3 separate regions of the Homo sapiens genome follow, and all the other regions are linked to region 2. The links are contacts of gene promoters, found by promoter capture Hi-C in blood cells and fetal thymus (Javierre and others, 2016). All regions are on one chromosome and are shown on one strand. The core of a region is centred on a gene start or on the middle of the fragment in contact, and the rest is flanking DNA. Distances in the headings are between cores, read along the strand shown.

What was found. Contacts are between HindIII fragments. The CHiCAGO score rates a contact against its expected background, and 5 or more counts as called.
Region 1: a fragment that was not itself captured here is called in contact with the fragment with the promoter of AQR in region 2 in 1 of 17 cell types (total CD4 T cells); the score reaches 5.1 in total CD4 T cells.
Region 3: a fragment that was not itself captured here is called in contact with the fragment with the promoter of AQR in region 2 in 6 of 17 cell types (naive CD8 T cells, total CD4 T cells, total B cells and 3 more); the score reaches 14.1 in naive CD8 T cells.

The regions. Positions count from the first base shown.
Region 1 is chr15:45,407,991-45,410,690 of GRCh38, forward strand. It overlaps AFG2B (AAA ATPase AFG2B), which reads left to right. Exons shown (of 8, transcript NM_024063.3): 3 at 2,382-2,540. Among named protein-coding and RNA genes, the nearest start is that of AFG2B, 7.0 kb to the left of the region's middle. The HindIII fragment of the contact is 2,095 bases long and covers 328-2,422 here.
Region 2 is chr15:34,968,329-34,971,028 of GRCh38, forward strand. AQR (aquarius intron-binding spliceosomal factor) reads right to left here and starts at 1,414. Exons shown (of 35, transcript NM_014691.3): 1 at 1,211-1,414. The coding sequence starts at 1,285. RefSeq lists enhancers at 1-39, 1,208-1,357, 1,408-1,517. The HindIII fragment of the contact is 5,969 bases long and covers 389-2,700 here.
Region 3 is chr15:49,621,861-49,624,573 of GRCh38, forward strand. The region is part of intron 1 of DTWD1 (DTW motif tRNA-uridine aminocarboxypropyltransferase 1); the gene reads left to right. Among named protein-coding and RNA genes, the nearest start is that of DTWD1, 2.2 kb to the left of the region's middle. The HindIII fragment of the contact is 493 bases long and covers 1,071-1,563 here.

The sequences.
Region 1 (2,700 bases), core at 125-2,624, about 10 Mb after region 2:
TTTGGGGGTGGCAAAACAATACTATAAAGTAGTCAGACTAGGAAAAATACTTTTAGTCCAATTTCCTTGATAGGGAATGAACAAATCTTACAAATCAGTAAGAAAAGACCAACAGTCCAAGAGAAAATGGGTAATGGGGTATGAACAGGTAGTTGACAATAAAAGGAATGACAATAAACATGAAAGATGTTCAACCTTGATTTCTTCTAAAATTATTGTCTTTATTTTGAAATAATTAAAACTTATAGGAAAGTTGCAAGATAGTTACAAAGAACTTCCACTAAACCCTTTATCCAAATTCACCAATTTTTAACTTTTTGCCAAATAAGCTTTATCATTCTCTTTTGCTCTCCTTGCTCCCTCTCCTCTTCTCTTTCTCTCTCTCTCTGTCATCTCCATATATATGTATTTATATGCACATAGTATTTATTTATTTTGGACTATTTGAGAGAATGGGTTGCATATATCATGACACTTTATCCCTTAACATTTTAATGTCTATTTCCTAAGAACAGAAATGTTCCCATATGTCACCACAGTATGGTGATGTATAGTGTTGTGTCCTTAGAGCCTCACATGTAGAGGCACAGAGTGTACATTGGTTCCTCATTGGTGATGCTAACTTTTATCAACTAGTTCAGGCAGTGCGCAGTTTCTCCACTGTGGAACTGCTATTTTTCCCTTTGCCACTAATGAGAAATCTGTGGGGAGACACTTTGAGATATCCTGCTCCTCATCAAACTTTCAGGCTGGGCACAGTGGCTTACACCTGTAGTCCCAGCTGCTCAGGAGGCTGAGATAGAATGATCACTTGAGCCCAGGTGTTCGAGGCTCAATGAGCTGTTGCCTCAATGCCACTGCACTCCAGCCTGGGCAGCAGAGCAAGACCCTGTCTCATAAATGAATAAACTTTTACTCCCCTCAACATAGCATCCAATTCTTGCTCATAACAGCCTTTACTATCATGATTGCAAGACGGGCGATTTTTTTAATTCCAATATTCCCTCTACCTCATTTTGAATTGAAGAAATTTAGTTAACACAGTAATGAATGAGTACTGGTTCTTCCTGTCATATTGGCAGACATTTAAGAGTTTGGAAATGGGCCACGTGCGGTGGCTCACACCTATAATCCCAGCACTTTGGGAGGCTGAGATGGGTGGGTCAGTTGAGGTCAGGAGTTCAAGACCAGCCTGGCCAACATGGGGAAACCCCGTCTCTGCTAAAAATACAAAAATTAGTCAGGTGTGGTGGCTCATGCCTATAAATCCCAGCTACTCGGTAGGCTGAGGCACGAGAATCATTTGAACCCAGGAGGCGGAGGCTGCAGGGAGCCAAGATCACAGCACTGCACTCCAACCTGGGTGACAGAGTGAGACCCCGCCAAAAAAAAAAAAAAAAAGAGTTTGATAATGTCTGTACTGGAGAGGTGTGGAGAGAACACAGCTTCATATTATCGGAGAAGAATAAATTGTTGCAGCTTCCTTAGAGGACAATTTGGTAATAGCTGTCAAAATTGTATATGTGTGTACTTGTAAACCCAGTAATTCTACTTTGAGGAAATTATTACATAAAATACTTGAACATGAGTTTGAACATGGTGGCTCATGCCTGTAATCCCAGCACTTTGGGAGGCTGAGGTGGGAGGATCGCTCGAGCCCATGAGTTCCAGACCAGCCTGGGCAACATAGGGAGACCGCATCTCTACAAAAAAAAAATATATATATTTTTTTAATTAGCCAGGCTGGTGGCACATACCTGTAGTTCTAGCTACTCCGGAGGGTGAGGTGCAAGGATTACTTGAGCCTGGGAGACTGCAGTGAGCTATGATAACATCACTGCATTCCAGCCTGGGTAACAGAGTGAGACCCTGTCTCAAAATAAACAAATACTTGAACATGAGCACAAAGACTTTTTCAGTTGCAGCTTTGTTTTTAATATCTAAAGACTGGGGATGACCTAACGTTTGTCAGAAAGGTGTAGTTGGGGTAAATTCAGTAGTGTATTATGGAATTGTCAAAAAGAATGACGTAGAACTGTGTTAGTTGACATGAAAAGCTCTCTAAGATAGGTGAAAGAAGAAAAGTACAGGCTGATATAGTATGGTTCCATTTGTGTATCTGTTTAAAAGGATATATGTATGCTTACTAGCATAACATACTGGAAAAATACACAAACTCTTGACATCTTTCGGGGAAGAATTACTGGCAGGAATTGGCAGGGAGACATTTAATTCTTTGTACTATGTATATAAATTGTTTTTATAATGATAACAAAATAACTTTACAAATCCAAAAGAAGATTTTAAAAACAAATTGTGCTATAAAAAAAGACCAACCTAATTTTTGGTTTGATTTTGCTTTTTTGGGTGTATTTCTTCAGAACCAGGACAATCCTGTGATTGATGAAATAGACTTCCTTGAAGCTTTTAAAAATATTCAGCCCTCATCGTTTCGAAGCGTCATTGGATTAATGGATATCAAGCCTGTTGACTGGGAGGAGATTGGTGGCCTTGAAGATGTAAAACTGAAGTTAAAACAGGTAAGACAGATAATCTACTTAATCCAGTAGGATATTACAGATTAACATTCTGTGCATTTATGATGACAACATACTGCGCTGAAACTGCTCTTGCTCCTATCACTAATGTGATCCTAACATCTAAATCCAATGATTGCTTTTCAGTCCTTATTTAATTGGA
Region 2 (2,700 bases), core at 164-2,663:
TGCAAGCTCCGCCTCCCGGGTTCACGCCATTCTCCTGCCTCAGCCTCCCGAGTAGCTGGGACCAAAGGCACCTGCCACCATGCCCGGCTAATTTTTTTTCTTTTTATTTTTAGTAGAGACGGGGTTTCACCGTGTTAGCCAGGATGGTCTCGATCTCCTGACCTCGTGATCCGCCCGCCTCGGCCTCCCAAAGTGCTGGGATTACAGGCGTGAGCCCCTGCGCCCGGCCGGAAGGCAGAAATTTTAAGAAGGCAAGTGATATGATGAGATTTGCACTTGTATGAAATCACTCGGAAAGCAACATGAAGAATGGGCTAGAGCAGAGCAAGAGGAAGGACAATATAACAGATTACGATACCTTGGTCCAGGCAGAAAACAATGGCAACCAAGCTTAGGGTGACAGAGATGTAGAACACCAGATAGATTCAAAAGATATTTAGAATGTAGAAATGTAGGGACTAAGGGAAAGGGAGGATTCAAAATCACTCCCTAGGCTTCTGCCCTGGCAAATCTGTTGAGACAAGGAATAAAGAATAAAGAAGCAGGTGGGCATGATAACTTCTACATTGAACTACTTACACTCTTATGCAATTCACAAATAAATAATAAGAATGAGGAATGATGCTGACAACCACAGGACTGTGGTTCCCTATCCAAAGCCAACTGTGGCTCACAATGCAAGATAGTAAACAGATTCTAAATGAACGCTCTCAAACTACAGAATTACTCTGTTTTTAGATAGGTCTATTTGGAGGTGTCTTGTCAGTTTCTCATCGCTGCTCAAAAACTCAGGACACTCTAAGGACCAGGAAAAAGCCTACTCCTACTTGAAGAGGCAGTCCAGCATCACTCTGCTGCGAAGCCTACTTGCCAGTCTCAGATAGACTGGGGTGTTCCCTCCTCTCTGAATCCATTGCTCCTGAGACAAACTCCAACACAGCAAAACTCATACAGTAGTTTTATTTTCATGCGTCTGTCTTCCTTGGGCCATGAACTCCCCAGGGCAGGGCAGCTTCTTTCACCACGGTATGCCCAGCACCTAGCATAGTGGCCGGCACGGAGCTGATACTCAGTAAAAAGACGTGTGTGAATCAATTAACAAACGAATGCCTCCTCCGGACTCCTAAATCCTGAAAAAAAACCCCACCACCAGGCCTCGGGGCCACGACGTCCATACCCACTCACACACACCAGACTCGCCCGAGCTCACCTGGGTCACGAACTCCGCATTGATTTGGGACACCGTAGGGGCCACGATCTTCTTGGGCTGCGCAGGGGCTGCCATGGCAGCACTCTTCCCTCCACTCCAGTGGAAACTAAAGGACCGCTCTGGGCAGCGGCAACCCTGGTCCACTTCCCTTAAGTTACTGCCGGGGCGCTTAACTCCGCGCCGCACAAACGCTCCGGGCCGGATATCCTCAGCCTTCAGAGTCCCGTAGGGAACCCGTACAACAGCCCAAGCGTTCCTCGGGAAGCGGAATGGCGTGTAGCCGGAAGTTCATGCAGGCGTTGGGGCTGAGCTAGCGAGCCAAGAGCTTTGACCTCCTCTGTACACGCCCTCTAGCGGGCGGCAGAGAGAAGACACCTCGCTGGCGGGATTAGGAGGGCAAGGGAGGGACCCGGTGGATGGTGTTGGGTGGGGTTTCTCGTGGTTAGTGAAGAGTGCCGTGTGCGGTGAATGGGGATTTAGTTTTTTTTCAACCCTAAAGAAAAAACAAAACAAAACAAAAAAAACAGCCTGGGAATATGGGCTGGGTTTTAACTGCCCTTAACAGTGTTTTAGTTTAGTTTTGTTTTTTTTGAGACGGAGTTTCGCTCTTGTTGCCCAGGCTGCAATGCAATGGTGCAATCTCGGCTCACAGCAACCTCTGCCTCCCGGGTTCAAGCGATTCTCCTGCCTCAGCCTCCCGTGTTGTTGGGATTACAGGCATGCGCCACCATGCACAGCTAATTTTTGTATTTTTAGTAGACACAGGGTTTCTCCGTATTGGTCAGGCTGGTCTCGAACTCACCAACTTTAGGTAATCCGCCTGCCTCAGGGTCCCAAAGTGCAGGGATTACAGGCCTTAACAGTTTTATGGAGGTAAAAATTGACATACAATAACCCAGCCAGGCGCGGTAGTCACGCCTGTAATCCCAGCGTTTTGGGAGGCTGAAGCTGGCCGATTGCCTGAGGTCAGGAGTTTGAGACCAGCCTGGCTAACATGGTGAAAACCCATCTCTACTAAAAAACAAAATTTAGCCGGGCGTGGTGGCGCGCGCCTGTAGTTCCAGCTACTCGGATTCAGGAGAATAATCACTTGAAGCTGGGAGGCGGAGGTTGCAGTGAGCCGAGATTGCGCCATTGCACTCCAGCTTGGTGACAGAGCGAGACTAGCCTCAAAAAATAAAAATAAAATAATAATAAAAATAATTCACATACAATAACCCACACATATTTAGGTTGTAAAATTTGATGCGTTTTGACATGAACATACATTTGTGAAACTATTGCCAAAATCATAATGAGCATATCAAAGCCTCTAAAAGTTTCCTCGTGAACTTTTGCTATCTGTGCCTTTCACTGTTCCCACCCACTTTTCAGGCAACCACTGATCTGCTTTCTGTCACTATAGTTTGCTTTTCATGGAATTTTATATAAATGAAATAATACAGTGCATGCCTTCTTTCACTCAACGAAATGATTTTGAGATGGATTCA
Region 3 (2,713 bases), core at 67-2,566, about 15 Mb after region 2:
GTGACCAAGTTCTTAAAAACACTCTAAAGAAAATTGGAAGTGGTTTTTTTCTAATACTGAATTGGTCCACAATATAGGACAGGGGAGTCTGTATAGTGTTCCATTGGGAGGTGAGTCAGCTTACAATAATGGAAGAGGTAGAAGCTTTTTGTTATTATTTTGGAGAAAAAAAAATTGCCAGCCTGCCACTTGTGCTAGGCTGCAGACGGCCCATAAAGGTAGTTTGTCAGATACTTCAGTAGTGAGATGCTTACTGGATGTGTTTTGCAGAATGGTTTTGATTTAGTTAACAAGTGTTTGTTGAGTTCCTGCTGTTGCATAAGAATCAGGAATAGGTGAGATCAGGGAAGGAATCTGCTCTTACAGAGTTGAATGCTGGAGGGGATAGATTCACTAAAGTACCTCCACAATAAATGCATTTTTCCATGTCAAATATGTGGAACTAATAATAAGTACTCAAAGAGGTTTAAGACATTGCTGTGGCCCATCTATGAGTTAATAAGGAACTGAATTAGAATCCTGACTTTGAGAGTGAAGATAGAGGATTATATACAAGGTAGATGCAACTTGGTGAGTATAATTAATTTGGGGTGGAAATTGGGTAGAAGGAGGAATAAAAAATTAATGTATTTTTAGCCTTAAGTTCCAGAATGATGGACGCACCATCAAGGTGTTAAAATTGTTAGTTCCTTAGGAACAGTCTTTATGTTTTCTAAGTCTTTTTAGCCCCCATGACTCAAATTGTACTTCCTTGCACATATTTGATGTTAACAAGTATGTTTTAAAAATTTTAAATAACCCCATTTGCAATAAAATCATTTGCAATGATTTTCTCACAGTCGAGGCAGGCTGTTGGCTCGGTTAGGACAGATGCCCTGATCATGTAGTTTCAGAGACCACTGGAGGGAGCTGCCCATGATTTACAATTGCTGGCCTCTTCTACGTGGCCACCTCAGCCATAAGTGAGAGTATATAGGTGAACTAAGAGGTGGAGCCATAAACATTTCTCTTTTACTGTCTTACAGGTATTTGTGGTGGTTGATTTTTCTAGAGGAAGGTTATTTATATAAAGCTTCACTAATATCCATTTAGTTATGTGGATAGCAGGTCCATGAACTGCAAAGTGATATTTCTGAGGTATCTCTAGGAGGAATGCACTTTCAGTGCCCTAGGATAACTCCAAAAACTCACCAGTAGTTTTCTGTTAAATGTCAGGCAACCACAGTAACTTTCATGACATCCACAGGAACTACATTTTTCAGTCCCACTATGCCTGGGCCTTTGAGTGGTACATGCATTCCCACTAAATAGCTACTCCATTACCCAGGGAAATGAAGTCAGGTTGAGCTACTCCAATCAAATTTCATTTTTTAGGATGAATCCCATCATCTGAATAACTCAGGACTATTAAAGCCTCAAAATGTTTCTCTGTAAGAACCTCAGGCAACACCAGGACAAACCCAAAGAGAGTTTAGGTGAAACTTAGCTTCGTATGTGCAGCAAAGAGACGCCAACAGAGCATTTGCAACTCTCATTTCTGGGGACTATTAGGATCTCTTCCCAAGCTTTTTTTTTTTCTCTGTTTTAGAGATGGGATCTCACTTTGTTGTCCAGACTGTTCTCAAACTCTTGTGCTCAAGTAATCCTCCCACCTTAACCTCCCAAATGCTAGTATTATAGGCATGAGCCACCATGCGTGGCCCTTCCCAAGCTTGGAACTTCCTTACCTGGGTCGTAGATGGACTCTAGGAGATCTCCAAACCTCCTGAAATTGTGTGCAAAATATTGTGTCTGTATATGCATTTTCTAGGGATGCGGTTTAATATTTTCATGTGATTCCTAAAAGAATCTGAGGCTCAAGAAAAGAGGGCATCTTAATATCCTGCACTTTCAGTCATTGAGGGCATGATCACAAAGATCAAAGCCATTTTTAGGCAGGTGAGTTGGAGTGGCAGTCAGAAGTAGGTAAGATTTTCTATTTGTGAGGCAGGAACAAGGGATTGGACCATTGTTCTTAAATACTGCTTTCTTACCCAAAATGCAAATCTGTGCGTAATCAGTACACAGCAAAAATATTTACTGTATTTTGTTTTTCCCCTTGGGTACATTTGGCAAGTGCCTTTTTCTACTATAACCGGCGTTTTTGTATCTCTTTATTTGTATCTCAAACTCACTGGGACTTACAATCTTAAAAAAAAAAAGAAAAAGAAAAATTCATTTGATGAGTAATTAAATTAGTGCCACTAACTTCTTCTCAGCAAATTATGTTGTATTTTATGTTTCTCTGGACTTTTTGTTCACTTTCTGTTTGGGAGACCACAAAATGTTTCCTGCTGGAGTCACAGCATTTCTCTTGTCCCTGTTTCTACTTAAAGTGCCTGGAGCTTCGTAGTTAAACCACAATGCCAGAAGGCTTTATAATAAGAGAATTATTTTACAGCTGTGGAATGCATATCGAATCAATAGGGCACCAGTGTTGTTTCTCCCTTGAAAGATATCTTCCTTACAGGGTATACAGATAGCAATTTTGGCAGCCATCACCCTTCTTTGAAGAAAATATTAAGTGGGAAAGTTATTTTACCATTTTTCTCTAGTACTAAAGAATCTGAATGATGTATGTTTTTAAAAAACATAAATTCTTAGAGTAAGTGGACATTAATGTTACTCTGTAAATTTTTAAAATTTATAGGATAATATATTTTACCTTATGGGA